Linked DNA regions of Homo sapiens: region 1 is linked to region 2. The links are contacts of gene promoters, found by promoter capture Hi-C in blood cells and fetal thymus (Javierre and others, 2016). All regions are on one chromosome and are shown on one strand. Each heading gives the region's core, a stretch centred on a gene start or on the middle of the fragment in contact. The rest is flanking DNA. Distances are from core to core; before and after follow the strand shown.

Evidence for each region. The method cuts DNA at HindIII sites, captures the fragments that hold promoters and counts their contacts. A CHiCAGO score of 5 or more calls a contact.
Region 1: a fragment that was not itself captured here is called in contact with the fragment with the promoter of TPMT in region 2 in 1 of 17 cell types (naive CD8 T cells); the score reaches 5.4 in naive CD8 T cells.

The regions. Positions count from the first base shown.
Region 1 is chr6:21,592,497-21,598,135 of GRCh38, forward strand. It overlaps SOX4 (SRY-box transcription factor 4), which reads left to right and starts at 1,255. Exons shown (of 1, transcript NM_003107.3): 1 at 1,255-5,639. The coding sequence starts at 2,039. The coding sequence ends at 3,463. RefSeq lists silencers at 1,866-2,045, 2,816-2,905, 2,956-3,005 and an enhancer at 3,816-4,015. The HindIII fragment of the contact is 3,762 bases long and covers 1,682-5,443 here.
Region 2 is chr6:18,152,152-18,158,133 of GRCh38, forward strand. It overlaps TPMT (thiopurine S-methyltransferase), which reads right to left and starts at 2,926. Exons shown (of 9, transcript NM_000367.5): 1 at 2,882-2,926. It overlaps KDM1B (lysine demethylase 1B), which reads left to right and starts at 3,271. Exons shown (of 22, transcript NM_001364614.2): 1 at 3,271-3,420; 2 at 3,732-3,775. RefSeq lists a silencer at 2,972-3,531 and an enhancer at 3,972-4,211. The HindIII fragment of the contact is 1,618 bases long and covers 2,194-3,811 here.

The DNA of each region.
Region 1 (5,639 bases), core at 2,313-4,812, 3.4 Mb after region 2:
AACAACCCTCTATAAAGTAGCTCCTAGTGTTCCCATATAATAGATGAGGAAAACTGAGACTTGGCCACATCCCCATAGTTACAAACCATTAAGAAGGATTAGCAGCCAGGTCTACTATGAATCCGGAGGCCCCATTCTCTTCTGCTACCAGTTATCACCTCCTTCTACAGTTTCTCTTTGCCTTGGTTTTTCAGTTCCCTTCGATTCAAGTAACAAGAGGAAATATATAAGAAGGAAAGGAGGAAGATGGCTTTGGGAGGAGGAGAGGGAAGAGAGTGAAGCAATCTTTAATTTTGAAAACAGGGAAAACAAATATTTAGAAAGTAAAACCGATTTCCATCCTTTACATGCCATTATACATCCTATACAAAACTCTGGAAATCTGCCTATTGAGGTAATTACGGAGCACTACCTAATGTGTTTCAAGGGAAAGCTCCCCTGTTTGGGCTATGCAGGATTTACAGGGAGTTTAAATCATTAAATAACCATAGTTGACCCTTGCTTGGTTAAGAGAGTAAGCAATTATTGCAAAGTCCTCTTCCCTGCCTTCCACAAACAGCACAAAAACGGTTCTGAAGGGATTTACACAATACATCAACATCTGTGCTGTACCTAGAGTTGTTAAAATAATTGTGATGACAGGTGTCTAGGTACCACTTTCTTAATGGTTTTCAATATCCATTGATTTATTGTTTTGTGGCTTTCTCTTCCCCTTTACAGCTTTGGCTTTAAGAAAGAGCTGGGGAACAGATTTTGCACCAGAGGCTGATTCTTTATTCCAATGCTGAAAAGAACTAATAAAAATAATCACTTGGCTTTTAAGCAGAAAGCTTCCATTTACAGTATTTCACCCTTACCCCGCCCCGTTCCAAGCCCCTTGTTATCTAACATAATGGTTAGAATACATTTCCGTCTCTCCCCTTAATAATTTCATGCATTAACATCCTCTTCACACACTATACACACACGCACGCGCGCACACACACGCGCGCGCACACACACAGCAAAAGGAAAAAAGAGGCAGCAGAAATCTCAGCTGTACTTCTAGCCCTTTTAAAAAGTTTGCTCTGTAAATTGGAATGAGGTCAGATTTGGAGCTTCTCATTGCACGCGGAGATTATTATTGCATCGGGTTCCAAGCCAATGGGAAGCCCGGGGGAGGGGTTTGGCATGAGGAAGCGTTGGTTACAGCAGCTGATTGGCTGCAGCCAAGACTGTGAAAGGATAAAGAGGCGCGAGGCGGAATTGGGGTCTGCTCTAAGCTGCAGCAAGAGAAACTGTGTGTGAGGGGAAGAGGCCTGTTTCGCTGTCGGGTCTCTAGTTCTTGCACGCTCTTTAAGAGTCTGCACTGGAGGAACTCCTGCCATTACCAGCTCCCTTCTTGCAGAAGGGAGGGGGAAACATACATTTATTCATGCCAGTCTGTTGCATGCAGGCTTTTTGGCTTCCTACCTTGCAACAAAATAATTGCACCAACTCCTTAGTGCCGATTCCGCCCACAGAGAGTCCTGGAGCCACAGTCTTTTTTGCTTTGCATTGTAGGAGAGGGACTAAGTGCTAGAGACTATGTCGCTTTCCTGAGCTACCGAGAGCGCTCGTGAACTGGAATCAACTGCTTCAGGGAAAAAGAAAAAAAAAAAAAAAAGACTTGCCTGGGAGGCCGCGAGAAACTTGCATTGGAAGCTTCAGCAACCAGCATTCGAGAAACTCCTCTCTACTTTAGCACGGTCTCCAGACTCAGCCGAGAGACAGCAAACTGCAGCGCGGTGAGAGAGCGAGAGAGAGGGAGAGAGAGACTCTCCAGCCTGGGAACTATAACTCCTCTGCGAGAGGCGGAGAACTCCTTCCCCAAATCTTTTGGGGACTTTTCTCTCTTTACCCACCTCCGCCCCTGCGAGGAGTTGAGGGGCCAGTTCGGCCGCCGCGCGCGTCTTCCCGTTCGGCGTGTGCTTGGCCCGGGGAACCGGGAGGGCCCGGCGATCGCGCGGCGGCCGCCGCGAGGGTGTGAGCGCGCGTGGGCGCCCGCCGAGCCGAGGCCATGGTGCAGCAAACCAACAATGCCGAGAACACGGAAGCGCTGCTGGCCGGCGAGAGCTCGGACTCGGGCGCCGGCCTCGAGCTGGGAATCGCCTCCTCCCCCACGCCCGGCTCCACCGCCTCCACGGGCGGCAAGGCCGACGACCCGAGCTGGTGCAAGACCCCGAGTGGGCACATCAAGCGACCCATGAACGCCTTCATGGTGTGGTCGCAGATCGAGCGGCGCAAGATCATGGAGCAGTCGCCCGACATGCACAACGCCGAGATCTCCAAGCGGCTGGGCAAACGCTGGAAGCTGCTCAAAGACAGCGACAAGATCCCTTTCATTCGAGAGGCGGAGCGGCTGCGCCTCAAGCACATGGCTGACTACCCCGACTACAAGTACCGGCCCAGGAAGAAGGTGAAGTCCGGCAACGCCAACTCCAGCTCCTCGGCCGCCGCCTCCTCCAAGCCGGGGGAGAAGGGAGACAAGGTCGGTGGCAGTGGCGGGGGCGGCCATGGGGGCGGCGGCGGCGGCGGGAGCAGCAACGCGGGGGGAGGAGGCGGCGGTGCGAGTGGCGGCGGCGCCAACTCCAAACCGGCGCAGAAAAAGAGCTGCGGCTCCAAAGTGGCGGGCGGCGCGGGCGGTGGGGTTAGCAAACCGCACGCCAAGCTCATCCTGGCAGGCGGCGGCGGCGGCGGGAAAGCAGCGGCTGCCGCCGCCGCCTCCTTCGCCGCCGAACAGGCGGGGGCCGCCGCCCTGCTGCCCCTGGGCGCCGCCGCCGACCACCACTCGCTGTACAAGGCGCGGACTCCCAGCGCCTCGGCCTCCGCCTCCTCGGCAGCCTCGGCCTCCGCAGCGCTCGCGGCCCCGGGCAAGCACCTGGCGGAGAAGAAGGTGAAGCGCGTCTACCTGTTCGGCGGCCTGGGCACGTCGTCGTCGCCCGTGGGCGGCGTGGGCGCGGGAGCCGACCCCAGCGACCCCCTGGGCCTGTACGAGGAGGAGGGCGCGGGCTGCTCGCCCGACGCGCCCAGCCTGAGCGGCCGCAGCAGCGCCGCCTCGTCCCCCGCCGCCGGCCGCTCGCCCGCCGACCACCGCGGCTACGCCAGCCTGCGCGCCGCCTCGCCCGCCCCGTCCAGCGCGCCCTCGCACGCGTCCTCCTCGGCCTCGTCCCACTCCTCCTCTTCCTCCTCCTCGGGCTCCTCGTCCTCCGACGACGAGTTCGAAGACGACCTGCTCGACCTGAACCCCAGCTCAAACTTTGAGAGCATGTCCCTGGGCAGCTTCAGTTCGTCGTCGGCGCTCGACCGGGACCTGGATTTTAACTTCGAGCCCGGCTCCGGCTCGCACTTCGAGTTCCCGGACTACTGCACGCCCGAGGTGAGCGAGATGATCTCGGGAGACTGGCTCGAGTCCAGCATCTCCAACCTGGTTTTCACCTACTGAAGGGCGCGCAGGCAGGGAGAAGGGCCGGGGGGGGTAGGAGAGGAGAAAAAAAAAGTGAAAAAAAGAAACGAAAAGGACAGACGAAGAGTTTAAAGAGAAAAGGGAAAAAAGAAAGAAAAAGTAAGCAGGGCTGGCTTCGCCCGCGTTCTCGTCGTCGGATCAAGGAGCGCGGCGGCGTTTTGGACCCGCGCTCCCATCCCCCACCTTCCCGGGCCGGGGACCCACTCTGCCCAGCCGGAGGGACGCGGAGGAGGAAGAGGGTAGACAGGGGCGACCTGTGATTGTTGTTATTGATGTTGTTGTTGATGGCAAAAAAAAAAAAGCGACTTCGAGTTTGCTCCCCTTTGCTTGAAGAGACCCCCTCCCCCTTCCAACGAGCTTCCGGACTTGTCTGCACCCCCAGCAAGAAGGCGAGTTAGTTTTCTAGAGACTTGAAGGAGTCTCCCCCTTCCTGCATCACCACCTTGGTTTTGTTTTATTTTGCTTCTTGGTCAAGAAAGGAGGGGAGAACCCAGCGCACCCCTCCCCCCCTTTTTTTAAACGCGTGATGAAGACAGAAGGCTCCGGGGTGACGAATTTGGCCGATGGCAGATGTTTTGGGGGAACGCCGGGACTGAGAGACTCCACGCAGGCGAATTCCCGTTTGGGGCTTTTTTTTCCTCCCTCTTTTCCCCTTGCCCCCTCTGCAGCCGGAGGAGGAGATGTTGAGGGGAGGAGGCCAGCCAGTGTGACCGGCGCTAGGAAATGACCCGAGAACCCCGTTGGAAGCGCAGCAGCGGGAGCTAGGGGCGGGGGCGGAGGAGGACACGAACTGGAAGGGGGTTCACGGTCAAACTGAAATGGATTTGCACGTTGGGGAGCTGGCGGCGGCGGCTGCTGGGCCTCCGCCTTCTTTTCTACGTGAAATCAGTGAGGTGAGACTTCCCAGACCCCGGAGGCGTGGAGGAGAGGAGACTGTTTGATGTGGTACAGGGGCAGTCAGTGGAGGGCGAGTGGTTTCGGAAAAAAAAAAAGAAAAAAAGAAAAAAAAAGAAAAAAAAAAGATTTTTTTCTTCTCTTAATCGGAATCGTGATGGTGTTGGATTATTTCAATGGTGGGGTTAATATAGCATGTTATCCTGTCTATCTTTTAAAGATTTCTGTATAAGACTGTTGAGCAGTTTTTAAAATAGTGTAGGATAATATAAAAAGCAGATAGATGGCGCTATGTTTGATTCCTACAACGAAATTATCACCAGCTTTTTTTCATTCTTAACTCTTTAAAGGATTCAAACGCAACTCAAATCTGTGCTGGACTTTAAAAAAACAATTCAGGACCAAATTTTTTCTCAGTGTGTGTGTTTATTCCTTATAGGTGTAAATGAGAAGACGTGTTTTTTTCCTTCACCGATGCTCCATCCTCGTATTTCTTTTTCCTTGTAAATGTAATCAGATGCCATTTTATATGTGGACGTATTTATACTGGCCAAACATATTTTTTCTTTTGTCCCTTTTTTTCTTTCCTTTCTTTTTACTTCCTTTATTTCTTTATTCCTTCCTTTTCCTTTTTTTCTTTTTTTTTTCTTTTTTTTTTTTTTTTTTTGGTAGTTGTTGTTACCCACGCCATTTTACGTCTCCTTCACTGAAGGGCTAGAGTTTTAACTTTTAATTTTTTATATTTAAATGTAGACTTTTGACACTTTTAAAAAACAAAAAAAGACAAGAGAGATGAAAACGTTTGATTATTTTCTCAGTGTATTTTTGTAAAAAATATATAAAGGGGGTGTTAATCGGTGTAAATCGCTGTTTGGATTTCCTGATTTTATAACAGGGCGGCTGGTTAATATCTCACACAGTTTAAAAAATCAGCCCCTAATTTCTCCATGTTTACACTTCAATCTGCAGGCTTCTTAAAGTGACAGTATCCCTTAACCTGCCACCAGTGTCCACCCTCCGGCCCCCGTCTTGTAAAAAGGGGAGGAGAATTAGCCAAACACTGTAAGCTTTTAAGAAAAACAAAGTTTTAAACGAAATACTGCTCTGTCCAGAGGCTTTAAAACTGGTGCAATTACAGCAAAAAGGGATTCTGTAGCTTTAACTTGTAAACCACATCTTTTTTGCACTTTTTTTATAAGCAAAAACGTGCCGTTTAAACCACTGGATCTATCTAAATGCCGATTTGAGTTCGCGACACTAT
Region 2 (5,982 bases), core at 1,676-4,175:
GTACCTGGTGCTGCTAATCCTGAGCATTTGGGGATTCTGTATTGCAAACTGGGCTGCTCAATGGCTTTTCTCATTGCTGGTTTAGAATTCAGCTTCCTTGAAGTTGCAAAATCCTTTCCCACTTGTCCATTTGCCTTTCCAAAATTTTACTAATTTTGTCTCTCCTGTCCTGGCTATCCTAGTACTTTATGCCTTAAAAAAAAATTCTGTTATTTTCAGGAGACAGCAAAAACAGATTAAAGTAGATACTGAACCATAGTTCAATATCCTATCTCTACTCCACACATTTGTATTTTCAAATAATTTTCTACAGCTTCTTTTTTTGCATGGGAAATGCACACTAAGGAAACTGAAAAAAGACATGTACAATGTAAACTAACAATAAAATTCAAAGCCTCTCAACTGACTGAAGGCACACTTTCTTTCCTTTTCTTTCTTTCTTTTTTTTTTTTTTGAGATGGAGTTTCGCTCTTGTTGCCCAGGCTGGAGTGCAGTGGTGCGATCTTGGCTCACTACACACTTTCTTGGCTAACGGGACCCCAGAGTAACCTTGAAAACTGAGTTCTGGGCCAAGAGTAGATAGAGCGTCAGATACAACTCTATACCTCCTCTCTTGCTAACCACAATTAGGCTTTGTTCTATAAGGACTTAAGGGAAACCAGCCCTTTCAAAAGATTCTACCACTGATATCAACCAACCCCCTGATGCTGCCCCTCCTTTTGTGCCTGATAAGAGATCACAGACCACAGAATGGTTCTGGCCAGTCTACTGAGAATGCACAGTAAGGGTTTTTCTGTCCTCTGCTTCACCTTTTGATATAAGAGGGCCAAAAACTCCATCCTGTGATTGTGGTAACACCGCCATTTTTTGTGCATGGTACCCATGAAGCTCAATTACTCATGGGTACTTTCCTCCTTTCATAAATATTCATGAGTCATCCTACAGCTTACTGAATATGTATATTTGGCCACCTTCCTCAGCATAAATTCCTGTTCCCTTTGCCCCTCCCTGGAAGTGTCAGTTTCTGGCTTCTGGCCTGCGGCTACACTTCTCAGCCAGTCAGAATGGCTGCTCTACAGTCTGAAACCATTCATGAGAAAGAGTTCTCCTTTCTAAATTATGAACTTCTCATTCTTCAGCTGACAGACCATAACTGCAGATCCATCTGAATGTATGAGGAAAATGCCTTTCCTTTCAATGTCAACTCTGCAATATTAAGGACAATATAACACCATTATTCTAACATTCCCTTTAAATCATTAGTGAAACTAGTTTGGATTATACTAGCATGCTATTATTGGTGGTTCTAATTTAATGATTAATCTGTGAAATAGCAAACATTGCATAAAAGCATGTATTTCAGGCAAATTTCCCCTTTTGTTGCCAAATTTGGCCTCAGTATGCTTAGGATATAGGGAGGAGGCATTTCTCTCATTACCTGGGAACATGAATTCACTTCTTAGCAAATATTTGTTGACAAATGGCTTCTGCAAGACCCTGATGGTATCAGGAGGTGACTCTGAGTTTTCTGAGAGGTCAGTAGAAAGTATCTGATTTATATTGGGTACAGAAAAGCAAAAGAATGTTGCAGTTTTCTCATTTTCATTCAGAAACTCTGGAACCTAAATTCAAGGCTTCATAAAGCAGTTCTCTACTTAAAAGAGAAGCATAATCTTTATCAGAGTTCCACAGCAGCCTGGAGTAGCACAACTCTATTCCTTTCACACAAACTTGAACTGTCTAACAAAATCATGCACATAACTTAATCATGTCTTAGTTGTTTGTTTTTGAGACAGGGTCTCTCTCTATCCCCCAGGCTGGAGTGCAGTGGTGTAATGACACTTCCGTCTCCAACACTGGGGCTCAAGCGATCCTCTCACTTCAACCTCCTGAGTACCTGGGACTATAAGGGTGCACCACCATGCCTGGCTAATTTTTAAATATTTTGTAGAGACAGGGTCTTGCTATGTTACCCAGGCTGGTCTCAAACTCCTGGGCTCAACGTCTTAGCTGTTCTAACAGTTTCTCAGCATGGACTCCACTTGTATACATCATTTCTAGAGAAATAAAGTTTATTTCTATAATACAAAAAAAGTGCACATTACAAGAATTAAGGAAGGGAAATTTCACAAAAATTTCTGCCCACAAACAAAGTCCTCAAGTTGTTCTAGTCTCCATTCTCACCTTTTCAAAAGCTTCTGCTATAGTTTTGTTTTTAAATTTCATAAAATTGAGAAGAAACTTTCCTAAGGTGCACACATCTTAAAAGAGTATGACTCGGTGAATTTTTTACATATACATACACCTGTGTAACCACCGCAGAGCAAGACAGAATATTTACAGCACCCCAGTTTCCCACATCACCAGGGATCACTCACTATTTGGCAGTACTTATTTTTTCCCAAAAATCACTAATACACCAGGCTGGGGAAAAAACCGAGAGTCCGTTTCTATAAAAAAAAATTTGAAAAATTAGCCAAGCGTGGTGCAGCGAGCCTGTAGTCCCAGTTACCGAGGAGGCTGGGGCGGGAAGATCACTTGAGCCCAGGAGTTCCAGGTTACAGTGAGCTATGATTGTGCCACTGCACGCTAGCATGGGCGACAGAGGGAGACCCTGTCTCTAAAAGAAAAAAGAAAAAAAAATAATTAAAACACACCAGTGCTTTGGAAGCACTTTAAATCCTGGACATTGGATTCAGGTCATTTACTGTCCGACCTCGTTATTCCCAGTTTCCGCTTCTGCCCTGAACCCCACTTCACAGGGCTGATTGCTAGGCTGTCTACGCTTGTAAGAATTCCTGGGAGCCCTAGCACGGGCGCATACACTCCTAGCAAATCGTTCCCTTTCTCACCCGCACCCTCCGCGCCCGAGTGAGCCTACCTCGCTTACAGCTGGTTGCCGGCCATTGCCTCCGCCACCAATGACGTCCCCAGGGGCGGGTACGCCTCCGCTTCCACCTCCGCCACTTCTCCGCGCCCCGCCTCCGCCCGCGCCCCGCCTCCGCCCGCGCCCCGCCTCCGCCCGCGCCCCGCCTCTTTCCCGCGCCCCGCCTCTTTCCCGCGCCCCGCCTCAGTTCCCGCCCCCTCTCCCGGCGCCCCGTCTCCACTCCCGCCCCGTACCTCGTTGCACAGACTCCACCCACTTCCCCAAGCGCCGGGGTTTGCGCAGCGGCGGAAATGGGCAGGGCGGAGCGAGCGCTGCGGCTAAAGCGAAGGCGGGGACCCTACCCATCCCTAGTCCTGTCGGCTCCTCCCACCCCGGGTCACGCCGTGACAGGGGCGGAAGCGGCGGCGGCGGCGGCGGCCGAGAAGAGGCTGGGGCTCGCGGCGCGGCTGCAGCCGTCCTGTGCGCGCGGCGCGCGGCTCCGGAGAGGCGCCCGCAGTCCAGGGCGGCGCGCACCGCCTCGCTGGCGCTCAGAGGTGGGAGGCTCCCCACTCCGGGGGCGTGCGTGGGGGCCGTGGCGGATTTCGGGTGACAGCGTTGCACAAAGCAGCTTGGTTGGGGTGCAAGCCCTCCCTTTCCCCCTGTGCAGCGCCCCTCGCCGTGGTGGGAGGTGGGCGGGTGCCCCAGGGACGGATACCTCCTGCCCCGGATTAAAAGAGGGTGCGGGGTGGGTATCTGTCTGAAGAAGGGGGAATTCCCGGGCTAGGGTGTTGGGGCGTGGGGTCGCCGGGTTCGTCGCGATGTTGCCGGTCGGCTAACCCCCCTACAATGTTTCCTTTCTGTACAGCGGTGCCTTTTCCCCGAGACTCCCGGCACCTCTTCAGCGCAAAGGTGAGCCCCGGGGCAGTTGCTTCTCCGACTTCGAAAAGCTTCCGAAAGCTTCTCGGAAAGCGAGGCGGCTGCAGCTGGCACCGGGAGTTTGGGGCTCCCTCCTGGGGACTGTCAGAGCCGCGGGAGAACCCCACGGTCCTGGAGTAGGAACTCCCTCGCTTGTTCTTCCCGGCCGATAGGGTGCGGCCAGGAGCCCGCACAGCCTTGCAGGTGTTGTAGTAATTCTCTGGCACAGCCACCACGCGTTGAGACTTGATGAGCATTGCCAGGTTGCTGGGGTAACTCCTCTGGGATTGGAGACCTGGAGGAGGGGTGGCCCGATTAGGGTAGCTGTTAGTCAACGGCCGGGCAGCTGACAGGTGAAAGAGGAAGGAAGAGGCCGACCCAGCTGTAGAAAGTTGGGGTTCAGTGATGTGGAAACCAGCCACATAGAAGTCCAGTCTTCCCTTGGGTAAGCCTGCAGGACTCCCCAGTCCACTCCAGTTGGGGAATCCCCCACACCACGTATACACACATAACTCAAGGCTTTGACCAGTTTTGTTTTGTGTTTTTAAATCTATTTTAGTGGCAGAAAGGCGAGTGGGAGAGAAGGCTTCTTCAGGAGGTACATGAGAAAATTACCATCAATAATTATTTGCCTTGCTGGGAGAATCAACAAAAGATATCTAGGCAATTGGGGATTTAATATTGAATCATTGAACTGCATGTTGAATATTGAATAATTCAATATTGAATTATTCAATATTGGGAGGCCGAGGTGGGCGATCACTTGAGGTCAGGAGTACTTCAAGACCAGCCTGGCCAAGGTGGTGAAACCTGGTCTCTACTAAAAATACAAAAATTAGCCGGACGTGGTGGCACACACCTGTAATCCCAGCTACTCGGGAGGCTGAGGCAGAAGAATCGCTTGAACCCAGGAGGTGGATGTTGTAGTGAGCCGAGATCGCACCACTGTACTCCAGCCTGAGCCACGGAGGAAGACTCCGTCTCAAAAAAAAGAAAAAATCTTTTTGAATAAGCTGCTTCAGAAAAACCTAGGGATTATTATAATGAAATCTACATATTGATATATCCACTTATATATTTACCAAAAAATCCCACTTTTTTATCACATTAAAAGAAAACCAAAGCCAAATTTTAAATGCTTGAATTAAAAATTAGAAATATATGTATAATGTTGAGCATGAAACCAATTGGTTATATTTAGGTGTGTTTATTAATTTGAAAAATCAAGAAGGAAGACATTTTAGTATACTAAAAATTTTTTCTTCATTTTAAGACCTAAGGACCCAGCAAGTGGAGATATATAAATTACATCAAGTGCCAAAAGTTCTGAGAATGGATTCATATAACCCTCAATTGTATAAAGTTGAAAATATGCTATCATAAAAACCCTCGATAAGATTTAATAATGGCTTTTATAGCTCATGTTTTCATTTCCTTGTTAACCATTTCTTGAATTCTTTGTTGCATTAAGTACCTATTTTCTAGTATTCAGTTAGATTAAAATGTTTGATGAAATTTCAGGAAACTATACTTTCTTTTGAGAATGCATACCTTCCCAGGTGACAGGGTCAAATGTTGCATGAACCTAGGCTGATTCATTTATGTTCCTAAACCACACATTTGACTTCAGATATTTTTGCTATAATACTTACATATACTATACATTTACAAATACTATATATTTACATATATTTGTGGTTCATGTTATGAATAATGTCAGGTATATTTTATATATAAATGAAGAGATTTGTATATTTATGTATATAATAATTAATATTTATATGTGTCTATGAAGAGATTTGTTAGAGTGGACAGCCTTTTGAAAATAAAGTCCAAAAAGCCTTCTTTGGGTATAACAATTATAGGTAGATAGTCCTTTTTTTTTTTTTTTTTTTTTTGAGATGGAGTCTCACTCTGTTGCCGAGGCTGGAGTGCAGTGGTGTGATCTCGGCTCACTGCAAGCTCCGCCTGCGGGGTTCATGCCATTCTCCTGCCTCAGCCTCCCGAATAGCTGGGACTACAGGTGCCCGCCACCACCCCCGGCTAATTTTTTTGTATTTTTAGTAGAGATGGGGTTTCACCGTGTTAGCCAGGATGGTCTCGATCTCCTGATGTCGTGATCCGCCCACCTCAGCCTCCCAAAGTGCTGGGATTACAGGCGTGAGCCACCGCGCTGGCCGGTGGATAGTACTTTGAACATC